Linked DNA regions of Homo sapiens: regions 2, 3, 4, 5, 6 and 7 are each linked to region 1. The links are contacts of gene promoters, found by promoter capture Hi-C in blood cells and fetal thymus (Javierre and others, 2016). All regions are on one chromosome and are shown on one strand. Each heading gives the region's core, a stretch centred on a gene start or on the middle of the fragment in contact. The rest is flanking DNA. Distances are from core to core; before and after follow the strand shown. Region 1 holds the start of AHSP (alpha hemoglobin stabilizing protein). Region 2 has its middle 15 kb from the start of STX4. Region 3 has its middle 58 kb from the start of ZNF267. Region 4 overlaps ZNF267 (zinc finger protein 267). Region 5 has its middle 4.4 kb from the start of FUS. Region 6 overlaps ZNF267 (zinc finger protein 267). Region 7 has its middle 12 kb from the start of ZNF267.

What was found. Contacts are between HindIII fragments. The CHiCAGO score rates a contact against its expected background, and 5 or more counts as called.
Region 2: a contact is called between a fragment that was not itself captured here and the fragment with the promoter of AHSP in region 1, in 5 of 17 cell types (total CD4 T cells, non-activated CD4 T cells, naive CD4 T cells and 2 more). The highest score is 5.7, in total CD4 T cells.
Region 3: a fragment that was not itself captured here is called in contact with the fragment with the promoter of AHSP in region 1 in 7 of 17 cell types (naive CD4 T cells, total CD8 T cells, total CD4 T cells and 4 more); the score reaches 7.5 in naive CD4 T cells.
Region 4: a fragment that was not itself captured here is called in contact with the fragment with the promoter of AHSP in region 1 in 8 of 17 cell types (naive CD4 T cells, total CD4 T cells, total CD8 T cells and 5 more); the score reaches 8.0 in naive CD4 T cells.
Region 5: a fragment that was not itself captured here is called in contact with the fragment with the promoter of AHSP in region 1 in 1 of 17 cell types (erythroblasts); the score reaches 8.9 in erythroblasts.
Region 6: a fragment that was not itself captured here is called in contact with the fragment with the promoter of AHSP in region 1 in 9 of 17 cell types (monocytes, fetal thymus, non-activated CD4 T cells and 6 more); the score reaches 9.2 in monocytes.
Region 7: a contact is called between a fragment that was not itself captured here and the fragment with the promoter of AHSP in region 1, in 9 of 17 cell types (naive CD4 T cells, activated CD4 T cells, total CD4 T cells and 6 more). The highest score is 9.6, in naive CD4 T cells.

What each region holds. Positions count from the first base shown.
Region 1 is chr16:31,526,638-31,529,156 of GRCh38, forward strand. AHSP (alpha hemoglobin stabilizing protein) reads left to right here and starts at 1,263. Exons shown (of 3, transcript NM_016633.4): 1 at 1,263-1,325; 2 at 1,499-1,577; 3 at 1,821-2,166. The coding sequence starts at 1,503. The coding sequence ends at 2,054. The HindIII fragment of the contact is 1,316 bases long and covers 271-1,586 here.
Region 2 is chr16:31,046,844-31,049,362 of GRCh38, forward strand. No RefSeq gene overlaps it. Among named protein-coding and RNA genes, the nearest start is that of STX4, 15 kb to the left of the region's middle. The HindIII fragment of the contact is 4,212 bases long and covers 1-2,519 here.
Region 3 is chr16:31,930,772-31,933,290 of GRCh38, forward strand. No RefSeq gene overlaps it. Among named protein-coding and RNA genes, the nearest start is that of ZNF267, 58 kb to the left of the region's middle. The HindIII fragment of the contact is 8,251 bases long and covers 1-2,519 here.
Region 4 is chr16:31,911,587-31,914,105 of GRCh38, forward strand. All of the region lies in intron 3 of ZNF267 (zinc finger protein 267), which reads left to right. Among named protein-coding and RNA genes, the nearest start is that of ZNF267, 39 kb to the left of the region's middle. The HindIII fragment of the contact is 1,026 bases long and covers 747-1,772 here.
Region 5 is chr16:31,174,526-31,177,044 of GRCh38, forward strand. It overlaps the pseudogene NDUFA3P6. Among named protein-coding and RNA genes, the nearest start is that of FUS, 4.4 kb to the right of the region's middle. The HindIII fragment of the contact is 8,665 bases long and covers 1-2,519 here.
Region 6 is chr16:31,882,365-31,884,883 of GRCh38, forward strand. It overlaps ZNF267 (zinc finger protein 267), which reads left to right. Exons shown (of 4, transcript NM_003414.6): 2 at 2,134-2,260. Among named protein-coding and RNA genes, the nearest start is that of ZNF267, 9.8 kb to the left of the region's middle. The HindIII fragment of the contact is 4,868 bases long and covers 1-2,519 here.
Region 7 is chr16:31,860,998-31,863,516 of GRCh38, forward strand. No RefSeq gene overlaps it. Among named protein-coding and RNA genes, the nearest start is that of ZNF267, 12 kb to the right of the region's middle. The HindIII fragment of the contact is 9,415 bases long and covers 1-2,519 here.

The DNA of each region.
Region 1 (2,519 bases), core at 13-2,512:
ACCCCATCTCTACTAAAATACAAAAATTAGCTAGGCGTGGTGATGCACGCCTGTAATCCCAGCTACTTGGGAGGCTGAGGCAGGAGAATCGCCTGAACCTGGGAGGTAAAGTTTGCAGTGAGCTGAGATCGCATCACTGCACTCCAGCCTGGGCCACAGAGGGAGACTCCCTCTCAAAAAAAAAAAATTTAATATACTGTACACCAAAAGGAAGTCAGTTTTGCTGTATATTGATTAAAAAATGCTACAACCAAAAAGGCAAATCAACAAAGCTTTATGAGTGTATAGGCACCTATGAATGTTGGGTTTTGAATGGAAAAAAAAAGTGACAGGAAATATACAATGTTTAATGCTGGTTACTTTGGAGGGGGCAAAAATGATTCAGTTTTTCAGTGTACGTTTTTGTATTGTTTTAATTATTTCAATTAGTATATAGTGATTTTGAAATTTGAGAAACATCTACTGAAAATGGAAAATATCTGGAAAAATATTTAAAAAGAGGAAAAAGAGTATTTCTGCTTTATTGGGTACCTGTTGACAGGGTAGTAAACAAGACAAATCCATCTCCATTCTTTTTTTTCTTTTGAGATGGAGTCTCGCCCTGTCACCCAGGCTGGAGTGCTGTGGTGTGATCTTGGCTCACTGCAACCTCTGCCTCCTGGGTTCAAGCGATTTTCGTGCCTCAGCCTCCCAAGTAGCTGAGACTACAGGTGCCCGCCACCACGCCCGGCTATTTATCTCCATTCTTATGGAGCACAGCGTGGTGGAGTTCAGTCCACACGCTTACAGGTGGCTTATCTGCAAAATGTGTCTAAAAAGAAATTTTATAGGATAAATATTTTGTACATGTTTGAAACAGTGCTTGGCACAAATGAATAAATGTAATGCAAGCTGCTATTAATACATCATCTCCGAATTGGGAGAATCATTGCGATCACATCGTTGTGATTACACAAAAGCCTCTGTCATGTAATAGGGCTCAGTAAACGTCAATTTCCATAGCATTTCGAGCCTGGATACTGAAATATGGGGCAAAAAGCAGGAACATGCCCCTGGTTTGGCTCTTGCCTTCTTGCATTTCCTGGGTTTCCTCATTTATCTTTTTTTTTTTTTTTTTTGGCCTTGTTATCTTTCTACCTTCAGGGAAGCCTCTCCCTTCTTCTCCTCCCTAGAATGACCTATCACCCTCCTTCAGGACCTAGATGCAGGGCGTTTCTATCTTAGGCTGACACTTGACTCCTTGCCTACATCTATAGCTTGGCACAGAGAGATTCACGCACCCTCAAGAGTGTGGGTGAGACATATACAGCCTGTTAGACCTGAAGGTGAGCCCAACCTGGGAAAATCGTGACCTCAGAGCAGGGCAGGATGTGAAAGGTTTTGGAAAGGAGATAGCCCTGCAGGGCAGGAGGGATTTTTAAGGGGAGGAAGTGGGTTGGGGGAAATACCCAGTGAGGAGGGAAACAGATATGTAAATTCTACCCTTTTCTCTACCCAGGCAGATGGCTCTTCTTAAGGCCAATAAGGATCTCATTTCCGCAGGATTGAAGGAGTTCAGCGTTCTGCTGAATCAGCAGGTGAGTCCAAGCTTTCCATTTCAAAGGACTGGCCTGGAGACTGGGGGGTGCCGGGGAAGTGGAGGAAGAGGATAATTGGAGCTGGTGAAGTAATGGTGGAGTTGATGGAAACAACGAGAGACACGGGATACAATGCAGAGGAAAGAGAATGTGAGAGTTGGTGCTGTGGCACTATTCTAGTATTCCCGAATCCCATTGCTGACCACATTCTCCCTTGCCAACTGCCTCTCCGCAACCCCCCAGGTCTTCAATGATCCTCTCGTCTCTGAAGAAGACATGGTGACTGTGGTGGAGGACTGGATGAACTTCTACATCAACTATTACAGGCAGCAGGTGACAGGGGAGCCCCAAGAGCGAGACAAGGCTCTGCAGGAGCTTCGGCAAGAGCTGAACACTCTGGCCAACCCTTTCCTGGCCAAGTACAGGGACTTCCTGAAGTCTCATGAGCTCCCGAGTCACCCACCGCCCTCCTCCTAGCTCAGGGACCCAGCCCCTCCTCTCTGAGAAACTCTGACCTTCATGTCCTTAGGCTGTGCTCCTGCCACTCTACCCTGACACCTCAATAAAGACCAGTGCTGGTTTTGTTGGACTTCCTGGCTTCTCTTTCATGGTCTGTCCTGACATGTGGAGGCACTCGGTCCCTTTCCTTCCGCCCTCCTTCTTAGATATGCTCTTGGAAGCTTAATTCCTTACAGCAGAGGTTAGCAGCCTTGAGTGACCACCGGGCAGCGATTCTAAACTAAAACAGGCTGAACGAGGGCCAGGAAGGCGGGACTAGAGAGAGTGCAGAGCTGCAGGGGAGGGGGTGGCAGAAACAAGAAAGGGGGATAGAAGTCCTCCAGACATTGTCCTGTGACCTGCTTGTCGAGGAGGAAACTGTTGGAAGTCTCCCAGTCTTGTTCATCCTGCGCCAGGTCCACCGCCTCGACTTTTCAATCCCCT
Region 2 (2,519 bases), core at 9-2,508, 480 kb before region 1:
GAGAATTGCTTGAACCTGGGAGGCGGAGGTTGCAGTGAGCCAAGATCACCCATGGCACTCCAGCCTGGGCAACAAGAGTGAAACTCCATCTCAAAAAAAAAAAAAAATGTAGCTTACCTGAGGGAGTCAGTAGGCTCAACTACAGTTAAGTCTAACGTCATGGTTATGTCTGAAAAGAATTATGGGTATGCTGTTGACCCATGGATCTGAATGGAGTAAAATACGTAAGTTCAGTTTTGGAGGGAATTGCCCTGCTTCCCCTGCCTAACACCCCCTCACCCTGACAAAAAGCCACCAGGTTAAATCTTGACCATGAGTGTTCAATACTTAGTATGATTTTTAGGTCCCCAAGTTTCTTTCTTTTTTTTTATTTCGGAGACCGGGTCTCACTCTGTCACCCAGCCTGGAGTGCAGTGATGCAACCACAGCTCTCTATAACCTCGAACTTCTGGGCTCACACGATCCTCCTGCCTCAGCCTCCCAAGTAGCTGGGACTACAGGCCCATGCCACCCCAGCAGGCTAATTTTTGTTTTTCAAATTTTTTTGAAACAAAATCTCACTCTGCCACCCAGGCTGAAGTGCAGTGGCACGATCTTGGCTCACTGCAACCTCCGCTTCCTGGGCTTGAGTGATCCACTTACCTCAGCCTCCCAAGTAGCTGGGACTACAGGTGTGCGCTACCATGCCCGGCTAATTTTTGTATTTTTTTGGTAGAGACAGGGTCTTGCTATATTGCCCAGGCTGGTCTCGAACTCCTGAACTCAAGCGATTCACCTGTCTTGGCCTCCCAAAGTGCTGGCATTATAGGCGTGCAGTGTACCACCATGCCCAGCCTATTTTTGTTTTGTTTTGCTTTGTTTTGTTTTGAGATGAAGTCTTGCTCTGTCACTCCAGCTGGAGTGCAGTGGCACAATCAAGCCTCACTGCAGCCTCTACCTCTAGGGCTCCAGTGATCCCCCCACCTCAGCCTTCTGAGTAGCTGGGACTACAGGCATGCGCCACCACACCTGGCTAATTTTTCTATTTTTTTCTGGAGAGGATTTCAGCCTGTTGCCCAAGCTGGTCTTGAACTTCTGGTCTTAAGGAGTTCTCCCTCGTTGGCTTCCCAAAGTGATGGGATTACAGGTGTGAGCCACCATGCCCAGCCTAATTTTTGTATTTCAGGTTTTTTTTTGTTTTGTTTTGTTTTGTTTTTAGTAGAGATGGGGGTCTCTGTATGTTGCCCAGGCTGGCCTCAAGCAATCCTTGCCTCAAGTGATCCTCCTGCCTTAGCCTCTCAAAATACTGTGATTGCAGATGTGAACCACCATGCCCGGCCTGGGTCTCCAAATTTCTTTTTTTTTTTTAGAGACGGAGTCTCGTTCTGTCACCCAGGCTGGAGTGCAGTGGTGTGATCTCGGCTCACTGCAAGCTCTGCCTCCCAGGTTCACGCCGTTCTCCCGCCTCAGCCTCCCGAGTAGCTGGGACTACAGGCGCCCGCCACCATGCCCGGCTAATTTTTTTTTGTATTTTTAGTAGAGACAGGGTTTCACTGTGTTCGCCAGGATGGTTTCGATCTCCTGACCTCGTGATCTGCCCGCCTCGGCCTCCCAAAGTGTTGGGGTTATAGGCGTGAGCCACCGCACCTGGCCATGGGTCTCCAAATTTCTATGGGCATGAAGGAGACTGAGAAAGCTACTCTACTTCAGAAAGACATAACCACCAGTGTCCTCTCAATTGTGGCCAAGGAGAATAAGTGGAAAAGGGTGGTTTACTCTAAGGGCAGAGCCAAGAACATGGTGAAGAATGAACTAGGGAACTCTTCCCACTCCCAGGGAAAAGTGGGGGTTCTTCTCAACATCTGCCCAGCAGCACTTTAGACTTAGTGGGGCCCAGAGCCTGCTGTGTGTCTCCTGTCCTTCCTTCCTTTTTTTTTTTTTTTTTTTTTTTTGAGACAGAGTTTCACTTTTGTCACCCATGTTGTAGTGCAATGGCACTATCTCGGCTCACTGCAACCTCTGCCTCCTGGGTTCAAGCGATTCTCTTGCCTCAGCCTCCCGAGTAGCTGGGACTACAGGTGCATGCCACCACGCCTGGCTAATTTTTGGTTTTGGGGTTTTTTGTTTTTGTTTTTGAGACGGAGTCTTGCACTGTCGCCCAGGCTGGAGTGGAATGGCACGATCTCGGCTCACTGCAACCTCTGCCTCCTGGGTTCAAGCGATTCTCCTGTCTCAGCCTCCTGAGTAGCTGGGACTACAGGGGCCCGCCACCACGCCCGGCTAACTTTTTGTATTTTTAGTAGAGACCGGGTTTCACTATGTTGGCCTGGCTGGTCTTGAACTCCTGACCTTGTGATCTGCCCCCCTCGGCCTCCCAAAGTGCTGGAATTACAGACGTGAGCCACTGCGCCTGGCTAATTTTTGTATTTTTAGTAGAGACAGGTTTTCACCGTGTTGGCCAGGGTGGTCTCAAACTCCTGACCTCAGGTGATCCACCGGCCTCGGCCTCCCAAAGTGCTGGGATTACAGGCATGAGCCAC
Region 3 (2,519 bases), core at 14-2,513, 400 kb after region 1:
AAATAGACACACAGAAGAATGGAACAAAACAGAGATCTAGAAATAATGCCATACACCTTTAATCTTCTCATCTTCAATAAAATTGACCAAAACAAGCAATGAGGAAAAGACTCCCAATGCAAAAATGGTACTGGGATAACTAGCTAGCCATGTACAGAAGAGTAAAACTGGACCCATCCCTTACACCATATACAAAAATCAACTCAAAGTGGAATAAATACTTAAATGTAAAATCTAAACCTATTAAAAACCCTGAAGACAACCTAGGAAATACCATTCTGGACATGGCCTTGGCAAATATTTTATGATGAAGACACCAAAAGCAATTGTAACAAAAAGAAAAATTGACAAATGAGACCTAGTTAAACTAAAGAGCTTCTTCACGGGAAAAGGAAATTATAAACAGAGCAAACAGACAATCTACAGAATGGGAAAATAGTATTTGTGAACTATGCATCTGACAAAGGTCTAATATTCCGCATATATAAGAAACTTAAATACATGTACAAGCAAAAACAAAAATGCCCATTAATAAGTTGGTAAAGGACATGAACAGACACTTCTCAAAAGAAGACACACACAGCCAACGAGCATATGAAAAAAATGCTCAACATCAGTAATCATTAGAAGAATGCAAATCAAAACCACAATGAGATACCATCTCTCACCAGTCAGAATGGCTTTTATTAAAAAGTCAAATAAAAAAAGATGCTGTCAAAGTTGTGGAGAAAAGGGAACGCTTATATACTGCTAGTGGGAATGTAAATTACTTCAGCCACTGTGGAGAGCAGTTTGGCAATTTCAGAAAGAACTCAAGGCAGAATTACCATTCAATCTCACAATCCCATTATTGGGTATATACCCAAAGGAATATAAATTGTTCTACCATAAAGACACATTCACATGTATGTTCATCACAGAACTATTCACAATAGCAAAGACATGGAATCAGTCTAAATGTCCATCAGTGATAGACTGGATAAAGAAAACATAGTACCTATACACCATGGAATACTGTACAGCTATAAAAAATAGTATCGTGTCCTTTGCAGCAACATGGATGGAGCTAGAGGCCATTATCTTAAATTAACTAGCACAGGAACAGAAAACCGAATATCACGTTTTCATTCATTAGGGGGAGATAAACATTGAGTATGTATGGATACAAAGAAGGGAACAACAGACATCAGGACCTACTTGAGGGTGGAGGGTAGGAGTAGGATGAGGACAAAAAGCTACCTCTCAGGTACTATGTTTATTACCTGGTTGATAAAAGAATCTGTATGCCAAATTCCTGTGACACACAAGTTACCTATATAACAAACCTGCACATGTACCCCTGAACCTAAAATAAACTTTTTAAAAAGAAAACAAGAAGAAAATCAAAGTAATAGAGTACAAAACCGGATACTAGAGAAGGGAGTAATGTAGGCAAAAAGGGCCAAAAACTGGTTTAGCACAGGTAGAAAATGAATAGAAAAATGAGAGAAGTCAGTCCTTTCTTGTGAGTAATTACTTTAAGATAAATGGGTTAAACTATTTAATGAAGACCACAGAATGAATAATAGAAACCATCGTCTAATCATATGCTGTCTACATAACATTGAAAAGCTCAAATAGTTTAAAAGTGAAAGAATCAAAAACGATATTACATGCAAATAGTAATCAAAGGAAAGGTGGTTAGTATACTCACATCAGAAAATAACAGGCTTCACATCAAAGTTGTAACAAGAGACAAAGACAATGTATTGATAATAGGGCCAATCCAGTAAGAAGATATAACAATTATAAGCATATGCATATATTACAGAAGAACCCTCAAATATATGAAAATATATTAAATATACAATATGTTAAAAATGGACAGAATTTAAGAGAAAATGAACAATTCTACAGTAACAAATAAATACCTCAATTCCACATTTTCAATAATAAATAGACACCAGCCATCAGGCAGAACATCAATAAGTAATAGGGGACTGGTAGAACGCTATAAACAAACTAGACCTAACAAATATGTATGAAAAACTCCACCCACCCCCACAAAAAAAGCAGAATACTTTCTTTTCAAGTGCACATGGAACAATTTCCAGGAGACATTATATATTATTAGGTCACAAAACAATTCTCAATTAATTTGAAAATGATTAAAGGAAATCAAAGAATTTTCTCTGGCCAAGTGGAATAACATGAGAAATCAATATCAAAAGGAAAACTAGAACATTTGTAATAGATTTAAATAAAACAATACACTCAAACAGAGGGACAAAGAGAAATCATAACAATTTTTTTTTTGAGATGGAGTCTCACTCTGTCACCTAGGCTAGAGTGCAGTGGCACAATCTCGGCTCACTGCAACCTCTGCCTCCCTGGTTCAAGCGATTCTCCTGCCTCAGCCTCCCGAGTAGCTGAGATTACAGGTGCGTGCCACCATGCTGAGCTAATTTTTTGTATTTTTAGTAGAGATGGGGTTTCACCATGTTGGCCAGACTGGTCTTGAACTCCTAACCTCAAGTGAT
Region 4 (2,519 bases), core at 10-2,509, 380 kb after region 1:
ATAATTGGGTCTTCCTTTTTCTTTTTTTCACCCATTCTATGTCATCTAATTGGAGTGTTTAGTGCATTTCCATTCAGCATTATTATTGATAAGTATGTGTTCACTCCTGCCATTTTGTTATTTGTTTTTGCATCTTCTCTTTCTTTTGTCCTTCCTTTCTGTCTTCATTTTAGTGAACATGATTTTTCTTGGTGGTATGATTTAATTTCTTGCTTTTTGGTTTCTGTGTCTGTTGTATGTTTTTTTATTTGAGGTTACCATGAAACTTACAAATACTATCTTATAACCTATTGTTTTAACTGCTGACAACTTCACACTGATTGCCTAAGTGAACAAATAAGCAATAAGAAAACTAGTAAAAACTCTACCTTTAACTTTGCTTCCCCATTTTTCAACTTTTTGTTGGTTCTCTTTATGTCTTATTGTACTGTCTTTGTCTTGAAACATTGTTGTAGTTGTATTGAGTCATCATTGAGTATTTCTACTTGAGTATTTTACACACCACAGTTACCATATTATAATACTCAGTTTTTCTCTGTGCTATTACCAATGAGTTCTGTACCTTCAGATGACTTCTTATTGTTCATTAACATTCTTTTCTTACAGATGGAAGAGAATGCCCCTTAGTATTACTTGTAGGACAGGTCTGGTTTTAATGAAATCTCTCAGTGTTTGTCTGGGAAGGTCATTTTTTTCTCCTTCATGGCTATGGAATATTTTCACGGGATAGACTATTCTAGTGTAAAAGCTTTGCTACTTCAGCACTTTAAATATGTCATGCTATTCTCTCCTGGCCTGTAAGATTTCCACTGAAAATCTGCTGCCAGACGTACTGGAGTTTCATTGTATGCTGTTTCTTTTTTCTTGCTGCTTTTAGGATCCTTTATTCTTAATTTTTGGGAGTTTGATTATTAAATGTCTTGAGGTAGTCGTCTTTGGGTTCAATCTGCTTTGTGTTCTGTAACCTGGTTGTACTTGGATATTGATATCTTTATAGATTTGGGAAGTTCTCTGATCGTATTCTTGAAACTTTCTACCCCTGTCTCTTTCTCTCTTTAAGGCTAACAACTCTTAGATTTGCCCTTTTCAGGGTGTTTTCTAAATCTTGTAGGCATACTTCATTCTTTTTTGTCTTCTCTACATATTTTCAAATTGCCTATGTTCAAGCTCAATAATTTTTTCTTTTGCCTGATCAGTTTTGCTATTAAGAGACTGATGCATTCTTCAGTATGCCAATTGCTTTTTTAACTTCAATTTCTGCTTGATTCCTTTTAATTATTTCAACCTCTTTGTTTGATTTATCTGATAGAATCTGAATTCCTTCTCTATTTTATCTTGAATTTGTTTCCTCAACACAACTATGTTGAATCATCTGTCTGAAAAGTTACTTATTTTGTTTCTCCAGGATTGGCCTCTTATGCCTTATTCAGTTTGTTAGGTGAGGCCATATTTTACTGGATGGTCTTAATGTGTAGATGTTCATCTGTGTCTTGGCATTGAAGAGTTAGGCATTTATTGTAGCCTTCGCAGTCTGGGCTTTGTGTCCACCCTTGTTGGGAAGGCTTTCCAGAATTTGAAGGTACTTGGATCTCAAACTCAATAACGTTGTTCTTGCAGACTCATAGAGGTACCATGTGGTTGGTCTTGGTTAAAATCGATGAATTATCTGGATTACCAAGCAGAGACTCTTGTTCTCTTCCCTTAGTTTCTTCCAGACGAATGGAATTTCTTTCTCTATGCTGAGCTACCTGGAGCTGGGGTGGGATGACATAAGCTTCCCTGTTGCCCCCACCACTGGGACTGTGCTAATTTAGACTTGAAGTGAGCACAGCACTGGGTGTCACCCAAGGCCCAGTGTAATTACTGCCTGGCTACCACCTAAGTTTACTCAAGACCTTAGGCCTCTACAATCAGCAGGTGGTAACCAGCCAGGTTTGTGTCTCCTCAGGGCAGTGAGTTCCCTTTGGCCCCAGGTAGGTTCAGAGATATTGTGTGGGAGCCAGGTATTGAAGTCAGAAGCCTTATTTATCTCGTGTTCTATTCTACTGCAGCTAAGCTGGCATTCAAATTACAAGACAACATCCTTACCACTCCTCCCTCCCCTTTCTGCAGGCAGAGGAGCCTCACAATGTGTCTGCCACCACCACCAGCCCACAGGGGTTTCCACTGGGCTATCACTGATGTTCACTCAACACCCAAGCACTCTTCAGTCAGCTTATGATGACTGCTTCCACAACTGGGACTTACTCTTTGGTGCAGGGCAGGTCCAGAAATGCTGACTCAGGGACCCTAAGAGTCTGCTTGGTGCTCTACCCCACTGTGGCCAAGCTGGTACCTCAGGTGCAAGACAGAATCCCATTTACTTTTTCCTCTGCTTTGCTCAAACAGAAGGTGTCTTTCACTATACCCACCACAGTGGGAAATGTTCTGGGTCACACCTGAAGCCAGCACATCTCGGAGTCCAATGTTCATGATGTGTTATTGGGGTACCACTGTAGGTTATTCAGAGACCAGCAGCT
Region 5 (2,519 bases), core at 7-2,506, 350 kb before region 1:
CAAAAAAAAAAAAAAAGGCCGCTGTCATCACCACCGAGACCAAGAAGGCCACGAGACTCAGCACCTTCCTCAAGATTTCCTGGGCCAAGGAGCCAGTGCTGGTCTTGTCCTCTGTCATCCGGAGCCTCACTGTAATTCTACCCCCACTTAGTCCCCACACCAAGTACTCCATCATGATCAACGAGGCAAGGCCCTACAACTACCCAGTGCCTGTCTGCAATGATGGGAACATGCCCGATGTGCCCAGCCACCCCCAGGACCCCCAAGGCCCCAGTTTGGAGTGGCTGAAGAAATTGTGAGCACCTCCACTGCCAAAGGAGGACCCTCCCATGGCTCCCACTAGAAATGTGAAAACCAACCTCTCCCTGCTCAAAAAAAAAAGAAAAGAAAAAGAAAAATTGCATTAAATATTTGATCTAGGCCAGGCGCAGTGGCTCATGCCTGTAACTGTAACTCTAGCACTTTGGGAGGCCGAGGCAGGAAGATTGCTTGAGGCCAGGGGTTCAAGACAAAACTGGCCAACAAAATGAGACCTTGTCTTTAAAAAATAAATTCTGGGGCTGGGCGCAGTGGCTCATGCTTGTAACAGCACTTTGGGAGGCCGAGGAGGGGTGGATCACGAGGTCAGGTGTTTGAGACCAGCCTGGCCAACATAGTGAAACCCCGTCTCTACTAAAAAAAAATACAAAAAATTAGCCAGGCGTGGTGGCGGGTGCCTGTAATCCCAGCTACTTGGAGGCTGAGGCAGGAGAATCGCTTGAACCTGGGAGGCAGATATTGCAGTGAGCCGAGATCGCGCCATTGCACTCCAGCCCAGGCAACAGTGCGAGACTCCATCTCAAACAAATATATATAAATATAAATAAATATATATATATATGTAACTTCCTGGCACGATGGCACAGACCTGTAATCCCAGCACTTTGGGAGGCCGAGGCGCGTGGATCAGGAGGTCAGGAATTCAAGACCAGCCTGGCCAAGATGGTGAAACCCTGTTTCTACTAAAAATACAAAAAATTAGCCAGGCGTAATGGTGGGAGCTTGTAATCCCAGATACTCGGGAGGCTGAGGCAGAGAACTGCAAACTCCGGAGGCGGAGGTTGCAGTGAGCTGAGATTGTGCCACTGCACTCCAGCCTGGGTGACAGAGGGAGACTCTGTCTCAAAAAAACAAACAAAAAAATTAAATAAATAAATTAAAACTAACTAACTAAATAAATATCTGGATATCTGAGCTGGGTGCAGTGGCTCATGCCTCTAATCCCAGCACTTGGGAAAGCAAGGCAGGCAGATCATTTGAGGTCAGGAGTTCGAGACCAGCCTGGCCAACATAGGGAAACCTCATCTCTACTAAAAAAATTAGTTGGGTGTGGTGGTGCACATCTGTAATCCCAGGTACTCAGGAGGCTGAGGCAGGAGAATTGCTGGAACCTGGGAAGTAGAGGTTGCAGTCAGCTGAGATTGCAGCACTGCTCTCCAGCCTGGGTGACAGAGTGAGACTCTGTCTCAAAAAAAAATCAATATCTGATATACGTGTTTATTTTTTTATTGAGATGGAGTCTTGCTCTGTCGCCCAGGCTGGAGTGCAATGGCACAATCTCTGCTCACCGCAACCTCTGCCTCCCTGGCTCAAGCAATTCTCCTGCCTCAACCTCCCGAGTAGCTGGGACTACAGATGCGCGCCACCATGCCCGGCCAATTTCTGTATCTCTAGTAGAGATGGGGTTTCACCAGGTCGGTCAGGCTGGTCTCGAACTCCTGACCTCATGATCTGCCCACCTCAGCCTCCCAAAGTGCTGGGATTACAGGTGTGAGCGAACGCATCTGGCCCAATATCTGATATACATGTTAATTGAAACTGGGTGTGGTGGTCACACCTTTAATCACAGCACTTTGGGAGGATTCCCTTGAGCCTAGGAGTTCAAGACCAGCCTGGGCAACATAGCAAGACCCTGTCTCAAAAAAGAAAAATTTAACATTGACTTTCCTGTCAGAGATAGGAAGTAAATAAGACATTTATGGTGAACTTAAAGCACATATGGCAGCTAAAGGTGACAGTGTCTCACTCCAGCTGACCCTTGCCCTATGGAAGTGGGCCTGGAATGGCCCACTATTTTTAGTGTTGGCAACTAGTTAAAAAAATTAAAACATTCGAGGCAGGTGGATCACTTGAGATCAGGAGTTCGAGAACAGCCTGGGCAATATGGTGAAACCCCGTCTCTACTAAAAATAGGAAAATTAGCTGGACATGGTGATGCATGCCTGTAATCTCAGCTACTCGGGAGGCTGCAGCACAAGAATTGCTTGAACCCGGGAGGCAGAGGTTGCAGTGAGCTGAGATCACGTCACTGCACTCCAGCCTGGGTGACAGAGTGAGACTCCATCTCAAAAAAAAAAAAAAAAGAAAGAAAGAAATGGCCATTTGATTTAGTCTTTCAGAGTCACATATTTTTTTTTTTTTGAGGCCGAGTCTCATCTGCCACCATGCCCAGCCCAGAGTCACAGCTGGAGCCTGAACTC
Region 6 (2,519 bases), core at 12-2,511, 360 kb after region 1:
TTGTTGTGATTAGAGTATTGGGCGTAAGGGACTCTGTGCTGTGTCTGCTTCCTCTAGCTGAGTGCTATTGATAATGGGTCTAGGAGGAGCAACATCAGCATTGACAGGGGACTTGTTAAAGAAGCCAGTTCATGGAAACTTTCCAAACCTGCAGAATCACATTACTTAGAGGGGGCCCAGAATACCAAATGATATGTATGCGTATTGAACCTTGAGAGGCAATGCTTAGCTAAGTGATTCTCAGCCCAGGCTTCTAAGTAGGGTCACATAACCAGTTTGAAGATCTATGGTCACCTGTATCTTCCCCCACAGATTGTTTTTTTATGATTATATTAAGATTATGATTTACTGTTCCCCTCCGCCCATATCACAGCAATGATTATGGGCCCATCTGTGCATTAGCACTGGTACCAATTTGTCTTATTACAGACGATGCTAACTTCATTCACTTGGTGCAGGTGCTCTCTGTCAGATTCCTTCGCTATAAAGTTAATCATTTTTCTCTTTGTAATGAGTATCTAGGAGGGAGGATTTACTGAGTGATGTCTATAAACCATCACATTTAATCCAGAGACTCCCATTTCTTTTTGGTTTCCCTTTGCTTGTAGCTTTCTTTGCAGAGTAAAGGCTCTCACATTTGTTGACAGGAGATAACAGCTTTTAAGACTGGAAGTTCTGAAGCAGGTCTCAGTTCTGTAGGTTTCCATTTTATTTCATCTCATGTCACAAGCATATGCTTATTTATTCTCTATATTTTCAGAGAAAGAACAAGAATTAACATATAACAAATATGTCTATTGTCTTAAAATTCTAAAATATATAATAGCACATAGAATAAACATAACAAAAACTTGAAAAAAAATACCAGACTCAGAAACAAGAGCCTTTACTTTATTTCATTGTATGTATTGGTCTTTATAAAGGCATCACAAAAAAGGCATCACCCACAAAGAGTTTTATAGTTTTTATACAATTTAAAATATTTTTAAATTTTATTTACACAGAAATATTATCTTACTTTTAGTGTGTATATAGTTACCATTATGTGCACATATGCACATAAAATGAAAGCATTATTCGATCACTATTGTGTGGCTGCTTTCTTGTTTTCGTTACTCAGTTACGAAATCTTCTCTGAACATTCTGTTAAGGTTGTCTCTGTATATTGGCCGGTATGTCCCTTTGAGATAAATTCTAAATCAGATAAACTGAGGCAAAATACAAACTACTATGTAGCAAATATTTGGAAAATAATTTTTATATAAGAGGAAGAATATAATTTTTCTCAGATTATTTATTGGGTTTTATATATGTAAACAACTTTTAGGATGATATCTGATATATTGTGCATGTTCAAAAAGGATTACTACCATTCTAGCTGTTATAACTTGTAAATTTCATAAAACTCTCAGTTTCACATCATGCCTGAATTCTTTCCTCAGTGTTCGACCTCTCTGCTATTCAAAAGTGGCTTTGGGGCCTGAAGCATTAACACTACTGGTGAACTTGTTAGACATGCAGATACTCAGCCAGCCATGGTGGCTCATGCCTGTAGCCTTAGCTACTCAGGAGGCTGAAACAGGAGGATCGCCTGAGCCCAGGAGGTTGAGGCTGCAGTGAGCCAAGATTCAACCACTGCACTCCAGCCTGGGTGGCAGAGCGAGACCCTGTGTCAAAATTAAAAATTAAAAAATATGGAAATGCAGAAACTCAAAATCTAGATCTCCTGAATCAGACTCTGCCTTTGAAGAAGATCTCCAGTTTATTGTTGTATACTATACAATTTGAGAAGTATGCCTCTAAGTCACCATGACTTTTGCACCTGAGAATTATACACAGCTGATTCTGGATGATGTAAATATAGCACCCAAAAATGTATATTCCTGTGTTGATGCCTTAGTTTTATATTTTACATTTGATATAAATATCTACACTAGTTTTGTGGATTTTATGTTATTTTCTTTCCACAGAGTTTGAGACTACATTAGAAAATATTACTGTGTTAAAAATGATCTTACTGAATAATTCAGGTCACTCATATATGTCAGAACCAATAACTGTCATTTCATCTTGGGACAAATGAAGAACTCTGCCATGGCCACATGGTCAGTGTATTCTTTATTTTTATTTCAGGGACTGTTGACATTCAGGGATGTGGCCGTAGAATTCTCTTTGGAGGAGTGGGAACACCTGGAACCAGCTCAGAAGAATTTGTATCAGGATGTGATGTTAGAAAACTACAGAAACCTGGTCTCTCTGGGTGAGGATAACTTGCCTTCGGAATATCTAATAACTAAGAGTTTTATTTTCTTTTCAGAATGTCCCTTGGGATCTTGTGCTTTGTATGAGTTAGTTTTAGATTCTTGTTTTCAGGAAAAAAATAGGGGTTTTGTTGAAGTAGAAAAAATTTCATAATGTTTGATTTTGACATTCGCCTTTTTATTTGAGGTGATGTACAAGTTTCACTCTAGTCGTGATTCTAGAAATTGGTTGACATAAACTATTGTTGCTTACACTTT
Region 7 (2,519 bases), core at 9-2,508, 330 kb after region 1:
CTGGCATAGGTGAAACTCTAGCCTCTCATTTGGCTTTTGGTGGCATACGTGGGCAGGCAGCCATGGTTTTTCAGTGGTTTTGGCTGTAGTAGGGCAGTCACTGGATAAAAGTTTTCTGGTTTTATTTTTTTGCCTTTGCCTATTGGTGTATCTGAGTTGCCAGTTTCTTTAGCTCCAAGACTACAGTATATGGGCAAAGAAACCCGTGTTTCACCCCACTCTGTTATCACATCTTTCTTCGGTTCACGAACAGTATGCTTGCTTTCTTCCACCTTTTAGAGCTTTCTCCATTTGGTTTCATGTATAATGTCCAGGGATTTTAGTTGTACTTATTGGGAAGAATAGAGACATGTATGTCTAGTCTGTCTTCCCCAGAACTGAAATGCTTGGTTGTGAATGGATTAAACTGAGCTATCTCTAATTTGCCCATTATCCAAGCAGAAATATCAAGTTACTGATATTAGTTCCCATCTGAGGCTCTACTCCAGGTGGTGGCATCCCTTCCTGGGCACTGGGGCCTTGGCTGAGGCAGCAGGGAGAGATGCTGCCACTCAGGTCTTCAGCTCCCCTCTAGCATAGTGATGTCACTACCTGTGGTGGGGAATATGATTAACAACAAAGTCTCTTGCCAACTCAGGAAATCTCTCCGGAAAGATAGAAGAGAAAGAAAACAGTTTCATTGAAGAATCATTAAACGGCATTGTGATGCACAAAACAGATAATAACCTAGCACATTGCAAGAAAGAAGGAAATCTCACCCTTGTGCATAGCCAGGCAGCTACAACCAGTGCATGCGTGTTCCCGAGATAAACAGTAACCAGTCCTCAGGGAAGGGACTTGACAGCACTGTTTTTACATGTCCCTCAAGGGTACCCACTGTGTTCACTAATCACATTTATGACAAGAAAAGACCAGTGTCTCATAGTTTATGGCAGGAGTAGGTTAGTAAGTTAGAGCCAGGCACTGGCGGAAGCTGGGCTCCTACCCTCTCATGGGAACTTGCTCCCTTAATGATTCCATTTTAGAGAGATGGCTCCCAGGCCCTTGAGAAAGACAGTCCTGGTTGGAAGTTGGTAAGCGGCTTACTTAACTTTTGGAGACTTCCATACGTCACAAGGGGACAGAGAAGAAACTCATAGGGACAAGTTTTCTTTTAAAAATGCTCTGAAAGAAAAAGGCAGGGTTCCTTTTTCCTCTTTCACTGGGACAAATTTGTTTAATTGGTGATTACCCTTGTATCTGCCAATGGTTCAGTGACCCCCCATCTTCTACTCTCCAGTCTTACCTCAGTTCAGCCACTCCCTCCTGCTCTCTGGTACTCAGCCCTGTGCCTTCCAGCCACCTTTCTCCTTATATCATCAATCCTGTTTCCTAAACTCAGGGATTTCCATGCTCTGTCGGGATCCTGCCTCACTGCACTGCCTCCTGGACGCTCTCTGCAGGCTCTGAGTTGGGGCAGCCAGGGGGTCCCCTCCCTTGGATTCAGCCTCCAGGCCACTGTCCTGTGCCCCTATCAGATACTTTCTAGCATCTGGACACATTTAGGTCACATAGTGGATCTGGCTTTCTACTTGTTTGATGCTGGAGGGAGTCTGGATCTTGTTCTTTCACATACATAGAAGGCAAAGCTCAAAACTGATTTTGAAATTCTTTGTTATTAATTTTGGACTGAGATAAATTCTCTATTACTTTATAGTGACACATATATCGTAGCTCAAAGTTTAGTAGTTAGAATTTTAGATTATTATTTTCAGTACTGTGATTTCCCGTATTTAATCAACTTATAGGAAAGGCATGATAAAGAGATTATCTCATGTTTGAATACCCTTTTCTTTAATTTTTGGATTAGCTCTCTTCCCCCACCAACTCGCAATCTTTCTGCTCTAACCACAGGCACTTTTGGCAGCCATGAATTCTTATTCTGGGCAACAGGAGTGGCTCCACAGATGATGAGTCTATGGCCTGTTATACATGGAGCTCTTGCAAGCAAGTCCTGGTGACCACAAGGTGACCCAAGGCCCCTTCTCAGGCCAGATCGCTATGCCTGAAACAAAGGAAGAACCCTTCAGGGGAAGGAATATTTAGCCTGAAAATTCTTTTGTTCACTCACTTTTCAGGTGTCTTTATCCATTATTGAGCATCATAAATATCCAGATGCACAGATGCTTCCTGATATGTCCATGAGTTTAAAGATTGGACATTACTTCGCCCAGCAATCCTCGTTTTCAAACTTGCCAAGTAAGGTTTTATCATCTCCCACCAACAGAAACAAGGTCATGCTTAGGCCTTGGTGGCATAGAGGGAGGGTCTCTGAAAGTCACTCAAATATACACTCTGAGTAGTTTCAAGGTGTATTCACTTTTCTCTGTCCCTTGTAGGCCAGTCCTTGGAGAGACTAGGAAATCCAGAGTTTCCTACAAGAATGGGGATTCCTTGGAAGAGAGTTTCACCTTGAATCAAGAAAGAGGAATCACATACTTTCAAAGGAAATTTCTCATGATCTCAAGATCTCAAGAACC